5 separate regions of the Homo sapiens genome follow, and regions 1, 3, 4 and 5 are each linked to region 2. Evidence: promoter capture Hi-C in human tissues and cell types (Jung and others, 2019). All regions are on one chromosome and are shown on one strand. The core of a region is centred on a gene start or on the middle of the fragment in contact, and the rest is flanking DNA. Distances in the headings are between cores, read along the strand shown. Region 1 overlaps IGF1R (insulin like growth factor 1 receptor). Region 2 holds the start of PGPEP1L (pyroglutamyl-peptidase I like). Region 3 has its middle 27 kb from the start of SYNM. Region 4 overlaps IGF1R (insulin like growth factor 1 receptor). Region 5 overlaps IGF1R (insulin like growth factor 1 receptor).

Region 1 (5,212 bases), core at 2,685-5,184, 97 kb before region 2:
TGTCTTTCGACTCACTTGTGTGCTCACTGCACCCCTGTGCTGGCAGGACTCCAACCTCCACCCCCAGCACTTGTGTGGACAGAGAGCCCAGTGCTCAGGAAAGGGTTGGGCTTCAGGCTTGTGATGCAGATTCCGTGGTGGCTCTGTGACTCCTTCTGGTCGTTCTTAAAGTAGACAGGGAGCTTAGATGTCACCTGTGCATTCCCCTTGTTGTCCTACGAGTGAGTAAACAGGGCTACAGATAGCACTAAGGGATCTGCGCATGGCTGTGCAGCTCATTCATGGCATTTCTGGTCCTGGGTCCCAGTCTCTGAACTCCTTCCTGGTCTGACGTCCCTTTGTGAATGTTCAGGAAAATGTCACAGGGCTGCTTGGCAGCATTGTAACCATAATTTGTGCTTTACTGTAAATGAGAATCAGGCTGAGGATTGACCAGCTGGTTAGAGGTCCTGGTTTGGGTGTAAATGAAGACCCTCACCAGATGCAGAGAGATCCCCAATGGACATAGCCTCCAGGGCAGACGAAGCCTTAGGGGTTCTGTTTTGTCCTGGCTACGCTGGCTCTGCAGGGAGGGCTGGGGTTCTTTCTCCTTTGTGTGTTTATACATTAGATCTGTGAGTGGATCTTAGAAGTCACTCAAAGTACTGCACTGATTCCCAAACTTAGTAAGAAGCAGAGCAGGAAGAGGAGAAGAAGGATTCACGGTCCATGGGGATCAGGCCCATCAGCACAGAGGACTCAGAAGTCAACCCTGGCATTGTCTGCTGCCTTCCTGGGGAAGCCAGAGAGAAAGGCCCACTGCGGGGATCTTTCTCTAGACCTAAGCCGTAGCTGTCTGCTTTCTTGCCTCTCCAGGGATGGACTTGTCCTGCCACCTGGGTAGCCAGATAGAACGGCTTCCTGTGCTGGTTGGATCTGCTACTCGTGTGCACACCCTCTGGGGCAGAAGCCACGTCTGGTTTGGTGGGCTTTGGTCCTCCACCACCTCACTGGAACTCAGCCTCTCCTAGATTGCTGGTTCTCCACGTGTGGTCCAGGGACCACAGCAGGGGTCAGCACCACCTGGGATTTGTGATAAATGCAGATTCTTTGCCCACCCCAGCTGAATCAGAAGCTCTGGGGGTGGGGCCCAGCCCTTTGCAAACAAGCTTTGTGCACACTGAACTTGGAGAACCACTGTGTTGGACTCCGAGTCCTCTTGCCTGGATGAGAGGCCCAAGAGCACTGCATGTTAGTGGCTCTTCCTCCTCCCCCACACCTCCAGGGACTGGAGCTGGGGCTGCTCAGAATGAAAGATGAATGGGGGAGGGAGAAGGCCCAGGGTTGACCCCCCACAAGCTTGTCTCCCTGTCTCATGCTGTCTCCTATCCCATCATGCTGCTGATTGGGCAGGATTTACTTCCATGGATAATGGGAGACTTTAGAGCAAAGTGTACGCTGTTCCGATTGGGTAGCAGAGCATGTCTGTTCTCTCATGGACTGCTTTCAAGCACGTTGTACATACTTGGCTGAGAAAAATAACCAAAGGCATTTCTTGGGAATGATTCTAGTAACATCCTCTGGTACAAGAAGCATTATTTGATGGTAATAGTGGTCATAGAATTAATTAGCATCTTACCGATTTTGATATGTTATCCTTGAATCATGTTGCTGCCATTGTTAACAGCAACTGTCTGTTCTCCTATAGTGTTAATAACTAAATCTCTTATTGGCAAAGGAAATGTATTGTGGAGCAGGTGGCAAAGAGGACCTGTGTTACGTGGCCAGCAGGCTAGAGGGGACTGTGGCCAAGGGCAGGTGCGCTAACATCGATTTCTGTGCTTCTAGGAATTACTCCTTCTACGTCCTCGACAACCAGAACTTGCAGCAACTGTGGGACTGGGACCACCGCAACCTGACCATCAAAGCAGGGAAAATGTACTTTGCTTTCAATCCCAAATTATGTGTTTCCGAAATTTACCGCATGGAGGAAGTGACGGGGACTAAAGGGCGCCAAAGCAAAGGGGACATAAACACCAGGAACAACGGGGAGAGAGCCTCCTGTGAGTGACAGCATCCAAAACACCGTGGGCCCAACCATCATGATAACAGCAGACCCTCCTCCCATGTGTGATGGCAGCTTTCCTCTGCGGCCCCTCCTGGTTTCACATGGGGGACCACTAGACCATCTTAACTAGCACTTTGCTCCTACTTATATGTCATCACAATCAGTAGTGGGCAGATACGTGATGTATTCGTATTTATAAATTCTGTACATCTCTGTGAGTGTGTGAAACACTTATAAGTAGGTTCTCAAACTTTAAAGTGCTGCTTACAGAATGCACAGTTAAATGTCCTTTTATACACAGGTGCACAGTTAGATATTTCTCTTTCTTTTTTCTTTTCTTTTTTTTCTTTTTTTTTCTTTTTTTTTTTTTTTTTTGAGATGGAGTCTCACTCTGTCACCCAGGCTGGGGTGCAGTGGCATGATCTTGGCTCACTGTAACCTCCACCTCGGTTCAAGCGGTTCTCATGCCTCAGCCTCCCGAGCAGCTGAGATTACAGACACCTGCCACCATGCCCAGCTAATTTTTGGATTTTTAGTAGAGACGGGATTTCATCATGTTGGCCAGGCTGGCCTCAAACTCCTGACCTCAAATGATCCACGTGCCTCAGCCTCCCAAAGTGCTGGGATTACAGGCTTGAGCCACCATGCCCTGTCCGATTATTTTTCAGGGAAGAGCCAGTGTGCTTCAGCCCTATGAGCTCTACCCTTCTGCTCCCACAGAAGGGAAGCACAGGCCTGTGGGGTGGAGGGGGCTCTGCCCTAAGCGCAGCCCCTGTGGGCCACGGGTTTCCTGTCCCTTACACTCGGCCGCCTTGTTTCTCCCACCCCAACATGAAAAAGATGGAGTGAGCCTGCAGCCCTGAGTTGATATTGCTTTTTAAATTGAGAACAATATAATTACAGCCTTGTACTGTTTATAAAACTTTAAGGTCTCATATCAGAGATACAGCAGTGCCTTTCTCATCTAACCCTGTGTAGAATACGGCTGTTGAGAATGGCGTGGCTCTCTGGCTGGATAGGGTTATAAAAGTAAATCGTCTTTTCACCTTTGGCTTTTAATAAGGGAAGGGTATTAGAAAAAAAGTAATTTGTATGATGAAGGGTGATTTGTGCGTGTGTGCAGACAGACACACATGCAGGGAGGCAAATCAGAACCGATGCGTGTTTGGCTTTGGCTTGTTTCGCTGGTGTCTGGATTTACCTGGCGACACTTGTTGCTCTGGGGGATCTTAGAGGGAAGCACGCTGACTGACCTAGGGCTGAACAGCAGGCTGACGACCAGCGCCGCCTCCCGCCCCCTGCTCACTCTATCCCTGCAAAGCCCCTGCCTTGCTCCCTGTTCAGATCATAGTAAAATCGGATGTATCCGAGTATTTCAGAGTGCTTGTCTCCTTAGAGTCAGCCAGTCTGACCTGTCAGATCATAATACATAGTAGCCGTTTATTTTCTTTTGAAAGCAAAATCATGGTTTCCTCTCTAAATAACACTTCAGCAGGAACTGTGACATTTCCCAATCTCAGTTGCGCACATTTTGTCCTAAAGACTTCTTAGCTCTTTTACTGTCTTCAGTCCCTCTGCTTCACCTCTTGAGTGTGTAGTGGGATTCAGGCAGATAAGAGGGCGAAAGGACAATTCGTCAGAGAGCTCTGGGTCTCCATGAGGGTGGGCAGTCATCAGTCTTTCCCTGGTCCTTATCGTAGTTTGAATTTGGTCCAAGGAATAAGAGAGACACTTGGCACAGCTTCCCTGCCATACCCGCCAGCCAGGCTACTTCCCATAGAGCACGTTAGGCTTGGCCAAGTGAGATCTTCTTGTCAGTGCTTAATCCAGCCTCCCGTTGTTTGTCAGCCCTAGCTGGAGGCCTCACAGGAGTTCCTGTGTCCTTCCAGTTTGATACCAAGTTTAGACCAAGAAAAGTTCCTTTCTGTGGCACACCTGTAGTCTCTTACCTGTCTTTGGTGGTTGTACACGAACAGGCAGATATCCACAACTGCAGAACAAGTGTCATCGTCTCTCTTAAGAAGTTTCAGGGCAGCCTAAAGGCTCACCTTCACCCTACCAGGCCCCCTTTCATAGCCAGGATCTTAGGGATGGAGAAGAAAGATAAGTTCACCTCGTTCACTGAAGTCGCCCCTTGTTTTCAGGTTAGGAAACCCAGGTTCATGTCCAAGTCCCTGGGCAAGTAGCCAGCGTAACTGATTGACCTAAAACAAAGGATGGAGCCCTTGGAGCTCTGCATAGTGAAATGTATGATTTCTTAGTGGAAAACGAGAAAGCCACTGAGGAAGCCCAGAAGGGAACTTAGCATATACAGCCAGCTTTGGGGAAGGGGGAAGCAGTGCCAAGCAAGACAGGTGCTTTTCAGAGACACATGAATCTCTGTCACTCACGGATGTACTCTTTGCCCCAGGTGAAAGTGACGTCCTGCATTTCACCTCCACCACCACGTCGAAGAATCGCATCATCATAACCTGGCACCGGTACCGGCCCCCTGACTACAGGGATCTCATCAGCTTCACCGTTTACTACAAGGAAGCGTGAGTTTCTGCTTTGGGTGATGCCATTCTGTTGACAGGGCTACGAATGGGAGAGGCCAGTCTTTCGATCCTTGAATGGGCTGGCTGAATACAGGGGGTCAGCAGAGTCCCCAGGGAGAGCCACGCCAAACATCCCTACTTCATCCTCATGCACCCTCTCGGGCTGTCCCTGTGATGTCAGTCACAGCCAGTGACAGCCATGATTGGGAAAGTGTTAGCTCGAGGCCTGTCATTCTTTAGTGAGTGATTAGAGGTGTTTGAATAAAATAAACCCAAAATGGGGAAAGCTTGCTTTTTCCAGAATTAGGTCAGTCCAGACTCATGAACGATGATGGGGGACTTCACTGAAATATCGTTTCAGCCTCCTTACCTACTAGGCCTACTCCAGGAACACCCTGCAGGCACGTGGCTCTTTTGTATCATCTTATTCCTGTCTCTCTCTCTGTGTGCCTCTCCCAAGCTGTGGCCCTCTGCTCTAGGTCATGAGCCTTCCAAACAAGCGAAGAAAAGTGGAGAGAGAACAACCTTCATGTCTTGAGCCTTTTGTGACTTCTCCTAGACTCTGTTGGGAGCTTTTCCTGTGTGATCACATGACATTCCCCCATCTAAGCAGCCGAGGCTTATTCCT
Region 2 (5,255 bases), core at 2,104-4,603:
GCCAGGCGCAGTGGCTCATGCCTGTAGTCCCAGCACTTTGGGAGGCCTAGGCGGGCAGATCACAAGGTCAAGAGATCGAAACCATCCTGGCCAACATGGTGAAACCCCATCTCTACTAAAAATACAAAAATTAGCTGGGCGTGGTGGTGCGTACCTGTAGTCCCAGCTACTCGGGAGGCTGAGGCAGGAGAATCGCTTGAACCCAGGAGGCGGAGGCTGCAGTGAGCTGAGCTTACGCCACTGCACTCTAGCCTAGCGACAGAACAAGACTCTGTCTCAAAAAAAAATTAATAAAAATAAAGACCTTTGTGAAGATCAGGCCCCCAGGGACCAGCTGGGATGCTGACTTGGTGAGGCAAGTGTGGGTGGGGGTGACTCTGGATGTGCTGGTGTTTGCAGGAGTGAGCAGCCACCATTCCTTCCAAGTTGACCTTCTGGGGCTCAGGGTCTCCAGCTAGTGGCTCTCGGGGGGTGCTTCACAGCTCCCTGAAAAATGGAAGTTCTTACTCTGGAAGTGGGGACTGTGTGTTCCTTTGCGGGTGGCTGTTGTAGATGGGTTTGCAAGCCTTGTGAGGGCCCTGTGGTTTCTGGGCGTATAGATCCCTCTTCCTTGCTATGAGCCTGCACCCCCAAGGGATACCTCACGTGCCTCGGGCCCCACTCAGGGAAAACAGGTACCAGCCTCAGCTTCCTCCCTGCTGGGTTGAAAGGCAAGGTCTGAGCCTAAGCCACCAGTGGCACCTTCGTGCCCGCCACTCGAGAGTTACTTGAAGCGAATGAGCCACAGAAGCAGAAATGCCTGTGATCCTGATTGTTTATTAATAGGGCACAGCAGCAAGTTCGTTTCCATCTGGAATTATTAGCACCACCAGTTGCCATTCTTTTTTTCCCTCAGGGAACTATTTAAGACCCAGGATCAGGCCAGTGCGCATTCCAGGGGCAGGCTAAAAGCAGCAACAAATAGGAGAGAAAAAAATTATGTAGTCTTACCAGTCACCACCACGCAGCTGGGCTGGGAATCCATGAAGACGAAGTGGGAGCTCGCGCTGCGCCTCCCTGGCTCAGGCAGCGGCCCAGCGGCCGGGCTCTGCGCGCTCTGAGCTCCGGGCACCTTCTCTGCCTGGCCGCGTGCTCGCCGGGGACCGGGGTGGAGCGGGAGCCCAACCCCTCCTGGCCGCCCGGCGTCCGTAGCGTTCTGGGCCCCGAAAGGCCAAGGATCTAGGGGAGGGTGATAAAGCAATGCCCCTTGAAAGCAGAACGATCCAGCTCAGGACAGCGGGTTGGAGCGCCAGCAGGGACTTTCTGGACATTTGAGTCTGGGTCACTTTGTTGTTCAGGATGGTTCAAAGGTGAGCTAAGGGTTTGGCTACCAGCTGTCCCGGTTTGCCTGGGACAGAAGGATGTCTGGGACGGAACACCACATGGTGCTCAAAGAGGTACTGTCCTAGGAACTGTGGGCTACCCTACAAGTCGTTTACTTAGATCTTATTTTTTCCTCTTTAGTAATCCCTGCCAGAGCCCCTCATTGTGTTTGGCCATTATGATTTGGTAAAATTTGATTGCTCTGAAAACTAATTCCACAAAATATGTGAGATGTGAGCAGAAAAAAAAGAGAGAAAACCATAGATGAATCTTATGGCGCCTGCCTTTAAAATATTGATTGCAAGCACCGCTGCCTAGGAGCTGTGGGTCCTCAGGGAAGTTAACCTCTGTGCTCAGGTTTCCTGTTTTGAGAAACGAGGATCGCAGCACCGGATCCTGTATGGATTCTTTCTGTGCCCCAGGCACTGTCCCCAGCTTCATCAGCCCTGAGGAACAGAGGCTTGCCACCTAGCTAGCGTCTGTGCAAGCTTGCTAGCTCTGTGCTCACCACCCTGCGTTCTACCTGCGAAAAGTGCTTTCTTGACACTGTGCTGGACTCCTTAAACATGCCACTGACAGTGAGCCACAGCCGTGGCATGCCACCTGGCTCTGCAGACAGTCCTCTTTTTAATGTGTCAGAATAACTGAAAAAGGCTAACATTTGAGGCTATTTCCTCTATCGAAAAAGCTGTTTTCCAATATCTTGATCTTTCGGAGAATTCTATTTAAAAACAAAACAAACTTTTGGCCAGGTGCACTGGCTCACGCCTTTAATTTCAGCATTTTGAGAGGCCAAGGTAGGAGGATAGCCTGAGGCCAGGAGTTCAAGATCAACCTGGGCAACGTGGCAAGACTGCATCAATTATTTTTTTCAAAACGTGGTATATGCCCATAGTCCTGGCTTCTCAGGGAGGCTGAAGCGGGAGGATCACTTGAGCCGTCAGTCGTAACTGCACCTCTGCACTCCACCCTGGGTGACAGAGTGAGACCCTGTCTCTAAAAATATTCTTAAACTTTTTTTTAAACTGAAAATACTTTTTTCCTGAAGCTGTATATTAAGAGGAAGAAGACCCATGATTCTCTGTCCCCATCTAGGTCTGGGGAGGAGAAGCTCCCTTCAGGGAAGCAGGCAGAGCCTCTCAAGCACCCTGCGGCCTCTAGAGAGCTCAGTGTGACAGCAGGACCACGTGGCTCCATCTGCTGAATTGTCCTCCTGATATAAAGCGCTCCCTTTTAATTGGGATCACCCCCGCGGATTAGACCCCCCTTGGTGGCTTTCTGGGATTCTGAACCAGGAACAATTCCCTTTAATTAGCTCCTGGTGTGGGCTGCAGGCCTCTTCACTGCCAACAGGTGGGAAGCGCCATTTGCTCCCACTAGTCTCCCACTCCCTGTCCTGAGAAGCTGGGCCCACCTTGCCATGAGTGGGATGCAGAGGATTTTTGTACTTTGCCTCATTTCACAGAAGTTACCCGGTTTCTCAATATACCCCGGATGCACTTGTAGACTTGGTCTCTACCTCCTCTGGTGAGCAGCTCTCCTAGCTCCTATCACTTACCTAGTTCCGTCATGGTGTGTCCAGAATCGGCGGATTCTTGGTCTCACTGACTTCAAGAACGAAGCCGCGGACCCTGGCGGTGAGTGTTACAGTTTTTAAAGGCAGCGTGTCCCAAGTTTGTTTCTTCTGATGCTCGCATGTGTTCGGAGTTTCTTCCTTCTGGCAGATTCGTGATCTCGCTGACTTCAGGAGTGAAGCTACGGACCTTCATCATGAGTGCTACGGCTCTTAAGGTGGCGTGTTTGGAGTTATTCGTTTCTCCCGGTGGGTCCGTGATGTGGCTGGCTTTAAGAACGAAGCTGCAGACCTTCACGGTGAGCGTTACAGCTCATAAAGGCAGTGCGGACCCAAACAGTAAGCAGCAGCAACGGTTATTGCAAACAAGCAAAACAACAAAACTTCCACAGCACAGAAGGCGACTCCAGCAAGTTGCTACTGCTACCTGGGGCAGCCTGCTTTTATTCTCTTATCTGGCCCCACCCACATCCTGCTGATTGGTCCATTTTACAGAGAGCCGATTGGTCTGTTTTACAGAGAGCTGATTGGTCCGTTTTGACAGGGTGCTGATGGGTGCGTTTACAATCCTGGAGCTGGACACAAAAGTTCTCCACGTCCCCACTAGATTAGCTAGATACAGAGTGTGGACACAAAGGTTCTCCAAGTCCCCACCAGAGTAGCTAGATACAGAGCGTCGATTGGTGCATTCACAAACCCTGAGCTAGACACAGGGTGCTGATTGGTGTGTTTACAAACCTTGAGCTAGATACAGAGTGCCCATTGGTGTATTTACAATCCCTTAGTTAAACATAAAGGTTCTCCAAGTCCCTTCCAGACTCAGAAGCCCAGCTGGCTTCACCCAGTGGATCCCGCACCAGGGCCGCAGGTGGAGCTGCCTGCCAGTCCTGTGCAGTGCGCCTGCACTCCTCAGCCGTTGGGTGGTCGATGGGACTGGGTCCTGTGGAGCAGGGGGCGGCACTCGTGGGGGAGGCTCAGGCCGCGCAGGAGCCCATGACGCGGGGGAGGAGGCTCAGGTATGGCGGGCTGCAGGTCCCGAGCCATGCCCCGCACGGAGGCAGCTAAGGCCCCGCGAGAAGTCGAGCACTAACAGCTGCTGGCCCAGGTGCTAAGCCCCTCACTGCCCGTGGCCGGCGGGGCGGGCTGGCTGCTTGGAGTGCGGGGCCCGCCGAGCCCACGCCCACCCGGAACTCGCACTGGCGCGCAAGCGCGGCGTGCAGCCCCGGTTCCCGCCCGCGTCTCTCCCTCCACACCTCCCCGCAAGCTGAGGGAGCCGGCTCTGGCTTTGGCCAGCCCAGGAAGGGGCTCCCACAGTGCAGCGGCGGGCTGAAGGGCTCCTCAAGTGCCGTTAAAGTGGGAGCCCAGGCAGAGGAGCCGAGAGTGAGTGACGGCTGCGAGGCCTACCAGCATGTTGTCACCTCTCAGTGGGGGCTTGGCTTCCTCTGCACAGTTAAAGGAAGAGATTGGACCATTAAGAAATGCCCACTTCTTCTTTTTTTTTTTTTTTCAGATGTAGTCTCGCTCTGTTGCCCAGGCTGGAGTGCAGTGGCGCGATCTCGGCTCACTGCAGCCTCCGCCTCCCAGGTTCAAGCAGTTCTCTCCCTCAGCCTCCGGAGTAGCTGGGATTACAGGCACCTGCCACCAGCCCTGGCTATTTTTTGTATTTTTAGTAGAGACAGAGTTTGACCATCTTGGCCAGGCTGGTCTTGAACTCCTGACCTCGTGATCCACCTGCCTCGGCCTCCCAAAGTGCTGTGATTACAGGCGTGAGCCACCGCGCCCGTCCAGAAATGCCCACATTTGTAAAGTTGGTTGCTGCTAGGGTCCAACTCTGCTATCAACATTCACCTATGAGGTCTGGGAATGGGAACTTGTGTTTAAGGAGACTCCTTAAGTGCAAAGACTGCCCATCTTTAACCATACTACTTTTCTGATAACAAAGCTGAAATTTTCATCATTTTTTTTTTGATTTGACAGGAGCTATTATTTTAACTAAACTGGAATGTGTCCTGCAGTTTTCACTTTCCCATAATTCACTTATTTTTTTCTGTTCTAAAGTTTTCTCTAATTTTGAAATTAATAGAAAAAACAACACAAAATATTTTACTTAGTCACAGTGATATGTCTATTTTTGTATTCATTCACCTCCCCTCTCCCCACACAAGAACCCCCCAGCACATTCCTACTTTCTGGAATGAAAATAGCTCTGAGAAGTATGGATTTTGAGGTTCAACATCTGCACTTTTATTTCTTTTTCCATTGTAAAAACAAATGGTCTCTAATAATTGATGTCAAACACAGTCTTTAGGCTGATGAAATA
Region 3 (5,042 bases), core at 1,578-4,077, 71 kb after region 2:
CTGGTCTTTGAGCTGGGTCATCAGCTTCACTCTCTGGTCTTTGAGCTGGGTCATCAGCTTCACTCTCTGGTCTTTGAGCTGGGTCATCAGCTTCACTCTCTGGTCTTTGAGCTGGGTCATCAGCTTCACTCTCTGGTCTTTGAGCTGGGTCATCAGCTTCACTCTCTGGTCTTTGAGCTGGGTCATCAGTCCTTTGCCTTTGGAATTGGACTTGAACTGGAACTTACATTATTGCCTCTCCTGGTCTCAGGTCTTTGGCCTCAAGACTGGAACAATACCATCAGCTTTCTTGTGTGTCCAGCTTGCCAACAGCAGATCTGGGGACTTCTCAGCCTCCATTATCATGTGAGTTGCTTCTTCATCATATATGATATATCCTGTTGCTTCTGGTTCTCGGAGAACCCTAACTGATACAAATTTTGGCTGAGATTTTTGATGGGATGGTCCGCAGGGCCTCATGGCTCACAGGCTGCTTTATAGATGAATAGCTACAAAGGAAATCTCGAATCCTTCACATTAATTACCTGCCCTGGGATACAGACACTATCTGTCTCCTCATGGAGTCAGAGTTCTTGGTTCTCAGAAACATATAATTTGTATATTCATTAAAAACACTATTTATACATTCTGATGGGAAAAAGTCCAAATAATAGAAACACTGACAGTAATTACACTTAGTTTTGGAGCTAATTTTATTGAAAAATTGTCCTTAAATTGTTTCTTGACTTTGCCCTTAATCATGACGTGTTAAACACTCACAGGAAATCAGCATATGGCTCTTTAATGAACCAGCAGTGCATGACCAAGAAGTGTGGAGGTTGGTGTTTATTTTGAGATCAAAGGGAGAAAAATGAAGCCCAGAGGTATTTGTTTTCAGAAAAAAAAATCACACTCTTGTGTGTGAGGGTGACGGGAATCTTCTTAATTTAAGTTTTCTCCTGACTGTCCTATTTACTCCCACCACTAATCTGAATCTATAAATAGGGTTTAAATATTGCCCCTCTGGCTGTTTACTACACAGTCAATTATTTACTTTTAATTAAGAGATTTCCAAAGAGCATCCTTCCATTTCACCCTTGCAGCCAAACAACAGAGGGTGTGGCCTTTCCACAAAGAATGACTTTCTGTAACTCACATCCAAGAAAAGACACTGAAACAGGAAGAGACTAAGGAGCAGCTCCTCTCTGACTTGAAGGAAAGTCAGGCTTAATGATGATAATTTTTTCCCCCAGAACTTAAAAAAAAGCTGTATGCTCACTACGTGATGCAGGATGAGGCCCGAATCTGGCACAATTCCTGGTCCCAGGTCTGTTCCGTTCGATCCTTGGTTGCTTCCTGCTTGCCTCCGTCCTTCACCTCCCCAAGAGTTCGGCAAAACCCTGGTTGTCGAAATGCTGTAGTGTGGATAACACGCCATCTAGTGGTTAACAGGACAATTGCAAAAATAGCTTCACAGGTCATATGTCAAACTATTCCAAAATTGGGCTTCAGACCTCAGTTATCTATGCCACTGGTCCTCAGGGTTTGCTTCACATGAAAATCACCTGAGGAGCCTTTAAAAATCTGATGTCCAGGCCGTACCCCATCACAATTAAATCAGAATCTCTGGATGTAGGGCCCAGACATCAGCGTTTTTAAAAATCCCCAGGTGATTCCAAAGGGCAGCCAAGCTTGAGAACTGGTGACCTTTGCAACCAAAACAATGGATTAAAAGGTAGAAACACTTTATGCAGTGATTATAAATCACATGTATCATAAAAAACATTTCCTGTATAAAGCATATATAGAGGTTGCTTTTTTCCTTCTTCTTCATACTTGGATTTTATTGATTTTGTTTAGACAGGGTCTCACTCTGTCCCCCAGGCTGGAGTGCAGTGGTGAGATCTCGGCTCACTGCAACCTCTGCTTCCTGGGTCCAAGCGATTCTTGTGCCTCAGCCTCCCGAGTAACTGGGACTACAGGCGTGTGCCACCACGCTCGGCTAATTTTTGTATTTTTAGTACAGATGGGGTTTTGCCATGTTGGCCAGGCTGTCTTGAACTCCTGACCTCAAGTGATCCACCTACCTCAGCCTCCCAAAGTATTGGGATTACAGGCATGAGCCACCATGCCTGGCTTACAGTAGTACTTTAACATTGCTTTTTCAACTTAATATGTTATGGATATCTCATATAGTCAATACGCTAGATCTAACTCATTTTCTTTTTAAAAAACTTTTATTTTAGGTTCAGGGGTATATGCGCAGGTTTGTTATATAGGTAAACTCATGTTATGGAGGTTTGACGTACAGACTATTTTGTCACCCCAGTATGAAGCGTAGTTCCCAATAGTTATTTTTTTCTGATCTTCTTCCTCCTTCCTCCCTCCACCCTTAGGTGGTCCTCAGTGTCTGTTCTCTTTTTTGTGTCCATGTCTTCTCATCGTTGGACTCCCACTTATAAGTGAGAACATGCAGTATTTGGTTTTCTATTCCTGTGTTAGTTTGCTAAGGATAATGGCCTCCAGCTCCATCCATGTTTCTGCAAATGGCATGATCTTGTTCTTTTTTATGGCTGTATGGTATTTCATGGTGTATATGTACCATATCTTCTTTATAAAGTCTACTATTGATGGGCATTTAGGTTGATTCCATGTTTTTGCTATTGTGAATAGTGCTTCAGTGAACATAATGTGCATGTATCTTTATAATAGAATGATTTATATTCCTTTGGGTATATACCCAGTAATGGGATTGCTGGGTCGAATGGTGGTTCTGTTTTTAGCTCTTTTGGGAATCGCCACTCTGCTTTTCACAATGGTTGAACCAATTTACACTCCCATCAACAGTGTATAAGCATTCCCTTTTCTCCACAACCTCACCAGCATCTGTTATTTTTTCACTTTTTAATAGTAGCCATTCTGACTGGTGTGAGATGGTATCTCACTGCAGTTTTTATTTGCATTTCTCAAATGATCAGTGATCTTGAGCTTTTTTTCTTACGCTTGTTGGCCACATATGTCTTCTTTTGAAAAGTGTCTATTCATGTTCTTTGCCCACTCTTTAATTAGGTTGTTTTCTCCTTATAGATGCTGAATATTAGACCTTGCAAATATTTTCTGCCATTCTGTAGGTTGTCTGTTTACTTTGTTGATAGTTTCTTTTGCTGTGCAGAAGCTCCCACATTTTATTAGATCCCATTTGTCAATTTTTGCTTTTGTGGAAATTGCTTTTGGTGTCTTCACCATGAAATCTTTGCCAGTCCCTATATCCAGAATGGTGTTGCTTAGGTTGTCTTCCAAGGCTTTTATAGTTTTGGGTTTTACATTTAAGCCTTGAATTCATCTTGAGTTGATTTTTGCATATGGTGTAAGGAAGGGGTCTAATTTCAATCTTCTGCATATGACTAGACAGTTATCCCAGCACCACTTATCAAACAGGGAGCTCTTTCCCCATTGCTTGTTTTTGTCAGCTTTGCCAGAGATCAGATGGTTGTAGGTATGTGGCCTTATTCAATGCTATTCCTATCAAACTACCAAGGACATTCTTCAGAGATCTAGAAAAAACTATTTAAAAATTCATATGGAACCAAAAAAGAGCGCAAATAGCTAAGGCAATCCTAACCAAAAAGAACAAAGCTGGAGGCATTACCTTACTCGACTTCACATTTTACTACAGGGCTACAGTAATCAAAACAGCATGGTACTGGTACAAAAACAGACATTTAGACCAGTGGAACAGAGCAGAGAGCCCAGAAATAAGGCCTGATTTTCAATAGCTGTGAAAAATGAAAAAGCATCCGTAAATATGTGTCCTTTGAGGTATAACATCCACCAGTGGATTTCTTTGGTTAGATGGTGTATATGTTTGACATTTAACCAAAGCTTCTGGCCAGCGTTCTTCATCCAAAGGACAGCAATTCACTCTCCCACTAACACTGTATGAACTGTTCCATCTACACCTTCATAAGCACTGAATGCTATCAAGCTTTTTAATTCTTGCCAATATGATTTGTGAGAAATGCTATCATGTTACCTTATAAAATACATTGCATTTCCCTGTCTAGTGAGTCTGGGGATCTTTCATTTATTGACCATTTTCATTTCCCTTCCTATGTATTGCCCAGTCACGTCCTTTCTGCATATTTCTATTGGGTAAGTTTTTTTCCTTATCAGTTCCAAGAGCTCCTTATATATTACAGATATTAACTCAGAAATCAAGAATGTTGCAGATATTTTCCCCAATCTGTTCTTGTGTTTTAACTTTTATTACTTTTTATTTATTTATTTATTTGAGACAAGGTCTTGCTCTGTTGCCCAGGCTGGAGTGCAGTGGCCCAATCACGAACTCCTGGGCTCAGACAATTCTCCCACTTCTGCCTCCATGCCTGGCTAATTTATAAATTTTTTTTGTAAAGACAGGGTCTCCCTAGGTTGCCCTGGCTTCTCTTGGCGTCCTCAAGTGATCCTCCCACCTTGGCCTGGCAAAGTGTTGGGATTACAGTCATGAGTCACTGCACCTGGCCATGTTTTAACTTTTTATAGTCAAGCTTGTCTTTTCTCTTCTGGATTCTAGATTTCCTGTTATGCATAAGCAATACCCCCCACCCATGCCATGCTCCAATCTTGAAATTATACACATTTTCTCCTAAATTTATTCCATTTTTTTATTTTTCATTTAGGGTTAATTCATTCATAATGATTTTATTCATGGCTGGAGGTGTTATTTTCCAGATCAATAACCAATTATGTTAGCAGTATTAATTAAATAAATCATCTTCTCTCCCACTGAACTAAAATGCCATCTTTATCATGTATTAAATTTGAATATATACTCAGATTTTTTTTGACTTTCTGGTCTTCTGATCTGTACACTTATTTATAAGCTAAAGTCATACAGTTTTAAAATTATTATATTAGTTTTCTAGAAAGTTTTAATAGCTGGTAAGGGAATCCCACCCACTGTCTTTTCACAATTAAATATTTTTGTTGTCAGTTCTAAAACATTTAGAATTTCTCCAATATAAATGCTAAGTACTTTTTGTATAGCCCCAGGAAAACACCAT
Region 4 (4,934 bases), core at 144-2,643, 120 kb before region 2:
AGCTTGACAGAATCCTCTTGTCTTCATTTTGAGAAAATATGTCTTTACTGTGTGTATGTGCAGCATTTGGTTTTACCTCGTGGGTCTAAGCATTTTCAACTAAGCTTCCTTTTCCAACCTAGCAGACTTGTTTAAAGAACTTCAAACTAATAGCCAAGCTGTAATACGGTGGCTCTCTCAGCCTGAGAAGCCTGTGCTCACCGTCACTCTCTTCTTCCCTGGGGTGATAGGGATGGGGAGTAGTGTGTGTGAGAGGACAGAAGCGAGGATTGATTGAAGATTATTTTACGAGGCGAGAGCATGGTGGCACACCTGTCAGCTGAGTGGACTCAGCGCCTGCCCCGGCTAGGCTGTCCTCCTCCTGTGCCAGCCGTGGGTTCCCTGAGTCCCTCTGCAGTCATTCATGGGTGCTGAAAATAAAGATACCCTTTCTGTCGAAAGTGTTCGCCGGGCTGCCTCTGCCTCCCTGGAAAAGCAGCAGGGCACACAGGCTTCCTAGGCAGCCCCTGAGGGAGGGGCTCTTTTTATTGTCACTCTGGTTAGTTTGAAGACCAGACAGAAGGCAGCAAAAACCAACCCTTTGTTGAAAACTCTTTGCCTTTAGGCCCTTGGTACCATGTTCATGAGGCTCCAGATAATTCCACAAATACATTATTATTGTTACCTAGACTTGGGGACAGAGAAGGGTGAAACATGGGTCTGGGAATTCACAGATGAATATACTGTAATCCCCTCGAGCACATTTCTTTTAAAGGAATGGGGGTATTCTAAAGGAGTGAACACTCCACTGGGGGGCTGCTAGGCCCCTGTGAACGGTGGCAGCCTTGGCCACGGTGTGTGCTGTGATCTCTCCTGGGTCCCCCGGGCATCCTCAGACCTCCCCCACACCCAACCCACAGTCCCTTCTCCATCCATCTGCTGACCACACCCCAGGATGTTTCCAGCTCAGATCACGCCTGATTGCATCCACACAAACTGCACGCCAGGCATTTCCGTTTGGATGTGTACACAAAAACAACACGTCCCAGACTGAGCTGATCTTTCTGTACCCCTCAAAAGAAAAGTTCTGTACCCGGCCAGGCCTGGTGGCTCACACCTGTAATCCCAGCACTTTGGGAGGCCAAGGCAGGAGGATCACGAGGTCAGGAGATTGAGACCATCCTGGGTAACACGGTGAAACCCTGTCTCTGCTAAAAATACAAAAAATTAGCTGGGCATGGTGGCGGGCGCCTGTAGTCCCAGCTACAGGAGAATGGCAAGAATCCGGAAGGCAAAGCTGGAGCTTGCAGTGAGCTGAGATTGAGCCACTGCACTCCAGCCTGGTGACAGAGTGACACTCCGTCTCAAAAAAAAAAAAAAAAAAAAAGAAATTCTGTACCCTTCCAGATGGTCCTGGACATATCTTGAATCTACCCTGCTTTTCCTCATCTGCACTGCTGTCCTCTTGATCTGGGCTACTGAGGCTAGAATGCACATCTGATCATGTGCCTCCTGCTTAAAATAGTATTTTTCCTCTTAAGAGTAGTCCAAACTCCTATTGCTGGATTAAAAGGCTGTTCCAGGCTCTCCCTACCTCAGGGCACACCATCTTTCCTCCCAGTCTCCCCTCCCCTCTGTCTCCAGTGCTTCCATCCTTCAGTCATGCTGAGGTTGTCTTTGTTACCTTTGCTTCTCTTGGCCCGCACTCTCTGTTGGCTCTGCCAGCATCCCTATGCACCTGCTAGCTCCTACTCACTTGTCCAGCTTTGGCCTGGAAGTCCCTTCCCCTGGCAGGCAGCCCTAAGCTACCCTTTGCTTGCTACTGGCTCATATTCTCACTGCTTGTCCTCAGGCTGTGAGCCCTGGGAGGGCTGGGCTGAGTCCCCGAACCTGCCACGTCTATAGGGTGTAACCTACCTGAGGCCTGACTGCTAAAATCAAAAGAAGCCTTTCTCATTTGCTTAGCTGAGCTAAGTCCTTTCTGGAGAAGAATGCCCACGTCCTGGGTGGACTTCTGTTCGGCCTGGGGCAGGACGCTGCATGTCAGTTCACCTAGAGCCCCTCGCTTGCCCTCACCCCTCTCCCTTTCCTTCTCCTCCCCGTGTTGTCTCATGGTCAGTTCCTCTCCTGGCAAGGCAAGAGAATCATAAAATCTCTTTGGACCATGTGTCTCTCTGATGCACTTTGGAGGTTGAAGCTCACTTTCGTGAAGTTAGGAGCGGTTAATCCTCCTGCACGAGGATGCATGCCTGCTAGGGAAAGCCTCCCTGCGTTTATATGGAACAGTGGTGTGTACCTTAGGGCAACCCAGAAACAGCTGAGATGGCCCTAAACTCTTCCGTATTTTGATTCAGAAGCTTTACCTTATTTGAACATCTGCAGAATAAGTTCTTTCCTTTAGAAATGATTGGGGATAAAATTGTTTGCATTATGAAATATTGTATGGCCAGGTGGCCCCTCTTTCATGTTTTGTTCCTTGTGAAGAGGTTGAGTCTCCTATTTTTTTTTTTTTTTTGGAGATAGAGTTTTGTTCTTGTCCCTCAGGCTGGAGTAAAATGGTGCAATCTTGGCTCACTGCAACCTCCGCCTCCTGGGTTCAAACGATTCTCCTGCCTCAGCCTCCCAAGTAGCTGGGATCACAGGCACGTGCCACCACACCTGGCTAATTTTTGTATTTTTAGTAAGAGATGGGGTTTCGCCATGTTGGGCAGGCTGGTCTTGAACTCCTGACCTCAGTTGATCTGCCCGCCTCGGCCTCCCAAAGTGCTGGGATCACAGGCGTGAGCCACCACGCCCAGCCTATGGTATGCTTTTAAAAATGGTTTCTCTGCACTAATGATTATTTAAAAAAAAAACTCTGGCAAGAACAAAAACAAATGGTTTTTTAAAAACTCTAGAAATAATTTGATACATTCGAGGACTCTGGAGAGGGAGAGAGTTAAAGGCTGATGTGTGTGACTCTTTTTCCTCTCCCCCCAAGGAAAAAAAATGAAGAGAAGGAGCTTTTAAGTGCAGTGCCTCGTTTTTATGTGATTGCAAACCTGAACCAATCCTTTTAGTGGTGGATGTGGGACATGTTAGCTTTTCCAACAGTTTAGATGGGCCTTTGTTTTTATTGTTGGTCACTGTAAGAATTCCAAGGAATAGAAGGATCTCATGGGCAAAATCAGTTTGCTTTTTTCTCTGTATATTTGTTAGTTTATAGCAGCTTCTATTTTCCTCCTATTTTTAAAAGCTGAAATGCCTTTAATCGCACTCAGTGTGTTTATTCATGGAAGCCAGAGAAGAGGGTCCCTTCCTTTCCCCCATAGCGCCGTAATTGGAAATTTGGTAGTACTAGGTGAAATTCTCAGTTTTGGCGCTCGCATGGAACAGCCATCCATCTGCTGGCGAGACACACTGCCCGGGGCTTTTCAAGAAATCCCTTAATGGTCCTGAACACTAATAATATTTATATACATTGAGATGAGACAAAATTTACAGCGGGCTCTGGGGCTGGCTCCAGGACTCTCTAATCCCACACTTGCTCACGTTCTCTTGCTTGCCTCCTAGAATCCTTTCAGGTTGTGCTTCAGTGAGGGGAGCATGGTGTCCGTCTCTGCAGCAATGCTTATTTATGCAGTTCGTCCTCTAACAAACAGAGCAACTTTCCTTTTGACCTTCCCCTCTTCTCCCCATCACATTCCATTGCTGCCCCCGCATAGAGCATGTGCTTATGCATAGTTTGCATCATTTAACACGAAGGAACCCCTTGATTTGTGATCCCTTTAAGAAGTTGCTCTGTATATAAAGAAAATGATTTTTCCTGGTTGGTTTTACTGAAGTTCCTTCAGAAATAGCTCCCACCACCGAAACACACCTGACTTCCCCAGCCTGTGTATCGGTTGTGGCACGGACTGACTGACTGGATGGTATAATTTCACTCACTCCTTTGGGAAGTTTCGGGGGACTACTGCTCAGATGTGTGGGAAATGCGGAATATATCTACAGGTACTTTGTCAGTTTTTTTTTTTCTTTTCTTTCTCATCCTGGAAAATCCCGGCATTGATATTTAGGTATAACTATTTGCAAGCAAGTGCAGAGGGACATTTTTCTGTTCTTTTCAACGTTCTTATTACTACTGCATTAATAGCTACTTGATCTTAATGTCTATTACACATCATTTTATATAATGTTTTCTTTAAATTGTCAGGGAAAGGGATTCTGCAAGTAGATGTTGGTCCCCCCAGTTAGTGTCTGATGATGATGGTAAGATTCTCAGAGTTTCCTTCCTCTAATGACAAAGCATGGTGATGGTGATGTCTGAAGAGCAGCCTCGGTGCTCCAAGATGGGTGTATGCTTAATACTGCTGGCACACGCCTGACGAGCGGGAATGTGAGCGTTGTTTCTGTAACCAGTTTTACTGAACCTCACAGATCCATTATACGACGTGAATTTTGTGGGAATAACATAGGCTGGGAGTCTGCTCTCTTCCAGCCTGGTCCCTCTCTTCTTTCAGCCCTACCCTCTCTGATCATCATGTCCCTTGCACTGCGGCCAGGTAACCTTTCTGATACGAAGGTCTGGGCATGTTGTTCCCTTGCCTAAAACTTTCCATGGTTTCGTATTATCCACAGTTGGGCTAAACCCTCTGGGACAGGCCTTCAGTGCCTCCCCGGGCAGTGGTCCCTGGCCTTCTTCAGTAACACCCAAGCCCTTGCACCCACAGTGACCTCGTTGCTTTTACAAGCATTTACATGTGATGTTCTTTATTCCTCCCTTGCTCATCTTTCCACTTTCAACTCCACAAAACCGTCCTCGGCACCCAGAAGCCCAGGAAACACCAGGCAGCTCCACTCACTCCCGTACTTGCTGTGTCGTCCGTTCCCTGGGGACAGGATTGTCGCTGATCCTGCGTGCATCTGTCTGGCACACAGGTGCAGCACACATTAAATAGCTGCTAAATGAATAAATG
Region 5 (4,994 bases), core at 716-3,215, 79 kb before region 2:
CAAATCTTGAGCCAACATTTTATGTGCCTGGCACTGTTCCTGGGTTCAGGTTTTTAGGGGTAAATGGATGTTTAGGCAGATAATTTTGTCAATTAAAATAGTCTGAATTGTTCCATCTAGTCCAGTTAACCTAGTCTCACCAGTTAGTCTATGCCACCTTTGCAGCACCCAGAAGCTTCATAATATTCCTGCAGCCTTGTCCAGGGTAGTGGCTTGCTTGCTTTCTATCTTTCCCCAGCCTCCTTCCCTCCTCTTTTTCCTCCCCTCCATCTCCTAGAAACAGATCCTAGTTTGGGGGTCTGTGATCTGTGAAACAGCAACCTTGGCTTCTGGGGTTGAGTGAACTCAGCTTGTTTTGGTGACATGACATGTTCCTGTCTGGCTTTGCTGCTCCATTTTTAACCTTGTAAGTGCCAGGATGCCAGTGGGAAATCGGGAGTCCTTCTGATAGAATTTTTCCAGCAGATGTTATCACGTACTGCAGGGAAATTGGATCTGCGTGCTGGCCTTACTGTTGAGAAATTTTTCCTTATGTCAGACAAGACTCTGTCCTGCTACAGTTTAGTCTCATTTCCTCTTATTTAATCCTCAGAGGAGATGGAAGGTTTGGAAGCTTTCAGGCAACTGCCTTCCTTTTAGGAACTCCTTGTGTGCCTGAATACTATTAAATTACTCCTCAGACTTCTCTTTTCCAGATGAAATAATCTCAGGTCTTTTGGCCTTTTCTTGTAGCCCAATATCATACACCAGTTTCCTAGCCATTTAATCATTTTTGTTATTCTCTGGATGTGTTCCATTTTCTCCATGTCCCTGTTGAAATGTGAAACTCAAAAAGAACACAGTACAGCCTGACCAGTAGTATAAGTGATATAAACAGTGATATAAGGGCCTTGGGGGAAGAAAGAAAAATCTGCCAGCTTTCCGTTGGTAATGATCACCTCTGAGTGTTTTTAGGAATTGCAAAATGCTGGAGCCTGCATCCATTTTGAGAGCTACAATATCAATAAAAATATTTCTTTCTTCGATTAAAATACTTCTAATTTTAAAAATTAAAATAGCTGTAGTAGTCTTTAAAGAGTAACCATGATCACAGTTTTCCATGGCAAAATAATCATTGATAGGGGACTTACGATTAATGTTTACTTGATCCCCAGTGATTCCAGGCCCATTTCCACATAGACATCTGTATTTGGACGTCCCAGAGAGGTCTCAGATTCCTTGTGCCAAAACCAAAATCACAGTTGTTGCCCTCGAAAGGCCTCTTCTCTCCTTTGCTCCTTAGCTCAGTCAGTGGTCTTGTAATCCATTTGTTACCCAAGCCAGGAACCTCACAGCATCCTTCACTCTTCTTTCTGTTCAGCCACCCCTTTTTCATTCCAACCCAAGCCTCATGGATTCTGCCTCTTAAATGTCTCTGGAATCCAGCCCTCTGTCACCACCAGCACCGCCACAGCTCAGACTCCAGGTCACTCGCCTTGGGGGGATGGTATGAGCTGTCATACTGTATGAGCCTCATCCTGGGGCCATGACTTACCAAGCCAGATCATCTCTGTGAGTCTGCCTGGTGTAAAGACAAGGATCAGTGACTTCTTTGTAGGTCTGAACTGGGTAATGCAGAGCATGCCCTGGAGACATGGCATGTCCCCCCAATTCTCCAAGACATGACAGTGCCTTCTCTTACTGCCAGGTCCCTCCGTCTGTCCTCAGCACAGCCATTTCCCTGGAACGCGAATCTGATCAGTTCACTGCTGGGCCTGAAAGCTTTCGCTGACTCCTTTTAATCTGCAGAATGAGGGTGAAACTGCTTAGCTTGGGCTGGGTCCCTTGTGAGCTGGCCCTGACTTCTCTCCAGTATCATCATTTTCTAGGAAAGCCATTTCCCCACAACCCCCAAGGAAAGCATATCATAAACAAGTTTTCCCTTGGGGAGGTTCCCTCGACTCCCTTCTCTCCTCTCCCTTCCTCTCTGAATTGTTGCCATATGTGAAGTCCACTTTTCTAGTTGTCATGCTACCTGTTGACACTAATTTCCCATGTCCCACAGAATGTTCCAGGGTATGGGTCCATGTGCCTGGTGCCCAGCCTAGCATCTGCCATACAAGTGCTGGTTCTGATGATCAGTGGCTTCTGTGGTCTTAGACTTGTAGCAGGACTCAAATGTCTGCAGCGGCATTGGAAAGGGGTGCCGTCCAGTGTGTGCATGTGTGTGTGTGTTTATTTTAAATTGTCTGTGGAACTATCTCAAAGATTGAGGCCAGCAGGACTTGACCTATACATAGATGTAGACTGTACATAGATGTAAGAATTTCTATTCATTTTATGAAAATGAATAGAAATTTTCATTCTATTTATTAGAAATAGAATGCTTGCTGCTGCAAGCATTTGAGTCCTTTTACAGGTGTGAGATCACAAAGACCGCTTACCAACAGAACCAACACTTGTATGGCAGATGCTAGGCTGGGTACCGGGGACATGGACCAAACCCTGGAACATTCTGTGGAATGTGGGAAATTAGTGTCAAATGTATGCATTTTCACTAACAGTCATTAAACTGCGTACAAAGATTATTTTTCTTCAGTCTATCATTGAAACTATTGCACCAGAATATACTGTACTTTAAAAAATGAGTATATGCCTCAGTCTGCACATATTTACTCTTTTTTCAAATAATTGTTTGTTTGCCGTGTTCTATTTCTGACACCATTTACCTTCAGGAATTCTTACTGTATGATGGGGAGTAAACGAATATACAGGTATTTTTTTCATACTTCCAACTGAATGTGAAGAAATGAAATGAGCAAATTGTTCACCTGGTGATATTTTATCATTTCCTCCTCTTTGCTGCAGCAGGATATGAAAACTTCATCCATCTGATCATCGCTCTGCCCGTCGCTGTCCTGTTGATCGTGGGAGGGTTGGTGATTATGCTGTACGTCTTCCATAGAAAGAGGTCAGTGATGTGCAAAGTTATGACACTTTCTGTGGCTGAGTGGTTTGATGATTTGAATGTGAGTGAAGGTGATATTTTTGAAGATTTCAAGGAAATATTTTATGGACTGGAAAACCTGATTTTCCCATCAAATGTTCTTCCAGGAAAAGAGAACCTTTTCTAATGATTTTAACAACAGCCAAAATAATTTTTCGATGGTACAGACCTTCCCCTGGCTGGCTTTTCTGGTATACAGATACTGCTGCTGGTGCATACTTTTCCAAACGCGATGCGCTAGCCTTCCCAATCAAATAAGCCTTTTTATTTCCAATGAAGTAAAGAAACAGATGTTTCTTAAAAAGCGCTAATCTCAGGCTACTGAGGAAGCCAGAAGATGTGTTAGCAAATGTCTGCTGGCTCACCCAGGCCTGAATTGGGAGTGTAGACAAGAGCTGCTGTAGACAGTAAGCTCTCCCCATTCTGTTCTGATACCGTGTGAGAGAGGATAAATGAAACTGTTGTAGCGAAGATGAAAGTATATACAGGAATGTATGGAGGTGGGGTTTTGTTAACGTGAATTTAATCTTTTTGACAGAAATAACAGCAGGCTGGGGAATGGAGTGCTGTATGCCTCTGTGAACCCGGAGTACTTCAGCGCTGCTGATGGTAAGAGTCCGGGCCACCAGCACTGCCAGCGTGCAGGGCAGGTAGATCGGGAGCTTTCAGGAGGGTTGCTAATTTGGGAAAGGAAGGAGGTTTGCATTATTTTGAGCTACCTTTGGCCTTGGATCTGTCTTCATTAATATTTCTTTCTTTCTTTTTTTTTTTAATCAAAGTTTTTAGCAGTTCAGTGAATATGTCAAAACTTGTGGGACTGTATGGGGTGCCCCAAGGAAACACAGGCTTTAGAGATGAATGTGGCCAGCGCAGTAATCAATTTATTTAATTGCTTGAGATGTTATGCTAGAATGAAAACAGCTTTTTAATTGTTAACATCTAGTCAGAGGATATGCTGCAGCTGACAAAACAGTCCTTTTAAACTAGTTTCAGCTTGAGTATCATCTCATTATAATTGTCTTTGATGAATTACAGCTCTGCTTTTTTTTTTATCATGGAATTTTTCTGTCATTCCCTTCCGACTAGGGTCATACGCTCGTGGCTCATTCACATTCCCCTTGGTAATAACTAATGAGGGCCATTCAGTTAAGTGGCTGGGAAGGTCTGACATGGAAGTTGGGTGATCCTCAATGGTTATTTCCTTTTTTGCTCTTTCTAGCATTTTTATATCCAGACCTTTTGAGTGAGTCGGATTAGGGTGAGGGGTTGGTCACTGAGTCCAGTGATACTAGGACCCTTAACTGGCACTTTGCTAGGGGCTTTTACAAACACCATCCCATTTGTTTCTTAAACCCCTGCAATGTGCGTTTTCTTAATGCCCATCTGCAGGTGAGGAAATGAACTCTGGGAAAAAACTTGTGCAGGCTCACATGGTTAGACAGTTGAGAAGTCAGGAGGAGAATGGAATCACTGTGGAAAGGGCTGTGAGGTCCCCCGGGCAGGCAAGGAAACAGCCCTCAGGAGGGGCTGGACCGGATTCATCAAATGAATAATAAATAAGTGCATGATGTTGAGTGAGTACATTTAGAAAAAGTGTTTGCTGTCTTCTTGCCTCGGGAGAAGTGAAAGTAGATGCAGGAGATGTGAAATAAAGAGACATGATTATTCTAATTATTGTGATCAAATAAGAAAACATAAGAAAATACTTTAATAATGTGAAAACACCGTTATACTATGTAGGGTTTTACTATGGTTTCTTTAATAATTTCTAATTCAGTTTATAGTAAAGTCAATCAAAAGCAGCCTCCTCTGAATGGGAATCAGGTGCAGAATAATGACTTTATTTCTATCTACATAAAGGTCTCACAAAGTTGGTTTTTTAATAGTAATATATATATACATACTTCTGTAGTGTGTGTATATAAGGCAGAGAGAACATTCTGGACGGATGCACACCACACTTACAAGAGTTGTTACTTGTGGAGAGGATCTTTCCCTTTAAAAAAAA

Evidence for each region. Contacts are between HindIII fragments. The study calls those that stand out against the background at their distance.
Region 1: a contact is called between a fragment that was not itself captured here and the fragment with the promoter of PGPEP1L in region 2, in 2 of the 25 tissues and cell types used here (H1 embryonic stem cells and spleen).
Region 3: a fragment that was not itself captured here is called in contact with the fragment with the promoter of PGPEP1L in region 2 in 3 of the 25 tissues and cell types used here (mesenchymal stem cells, mesendoderm cells and thymus).
Region 4: a fragment that was not itself captured here is called in contact with the fragment with the promoter of PGPEP1L in region 2 in 3 of the 25 tissues and cell types used here (adrenal gland, bladder and mesendoderm cells).
Region 5: a contact is called between a fragment that was not itself captured here and the fragment with the promoter of PGPEP1L in region 2, in 4 of the 25 tissues and cell types used here (H1 embryonic stem cells, aorta, liver and 1 more).

The regions. Positions count from the first base shown.
Region 1 is chr15:98,906,858-98,912,069 of GRCh38, forward strand. It overlaps IGF1R (insulin like growth factor 1 receptor), which reads left to right. Exons shown (of 21, transcript NM_000875.5): 6 at 1,828-2,042; 7 at 4,458-4,584. Among named protein-coding and RNA genes, the nearest start is that of PGPEP1L, 98 kb to the right of the region's middle. RefSeq lists an enhancer at 1,009-1,509. The HindIII fragment of the contact is 5,382 bases long and covers 1,244-5,212 here.
Region 2 is chr15:99,004,439-99,009,693 of GRCh38, forward strand. PGPEP1L (pyroglutamyl-peptidase I like) reads right to left here and starts at 3,354. Exons shown (of 5, transcript NM_001167902.2): 1 at 2,921-3,354; 2 at 991-1,218. The HindIII fragment of the contact is 12,693 bases long and covers 1-5,255 here.
Region 3 is chr15:99,075,483-99,080,524 of GRCh38, forward strand. No RefSeq gene overlaps it. Among named protein-coding and RNA genes, the nearest start is that of SYNM, 27 kb to the right of the region's middle. The HindIII fragment of the contact is 4,261 bases long and covers 698-4,958 here.
Region 4 is chr15:98,883,339-98,888,272 of GRCh38, forward strand. All of the region lies in intron 2 of IGF1R (insulin like growth factor 1 receptor), which reads left to right. Among named protein-coding and RNA genes, the nearest start is that of MIR4714, 100 kb to the left of the region's middle. RefSeq lists enhancers at 497-1,089, 1,090-1,682. The HindIII fragment of the contact is 5,456 bases long and covers 1-4,121 here.
Region 5 is chr15:98,926,711-98,931,704 of GRCh38, forward strand. IGF1R (insulin like growth factor 1 receptor) reads left to right here. Exons shown (of 21, transcript NM_000875.5): 14 at 2,848-2,950; 15 at 3,525-3,595. Among named protein-coding and RNA genes, the nearest start is that of PGPEP1L, 79 kb to the right of the region's middle. The HindIII fragment of the contact is 6,138 bases long and covers 1-4,994 here.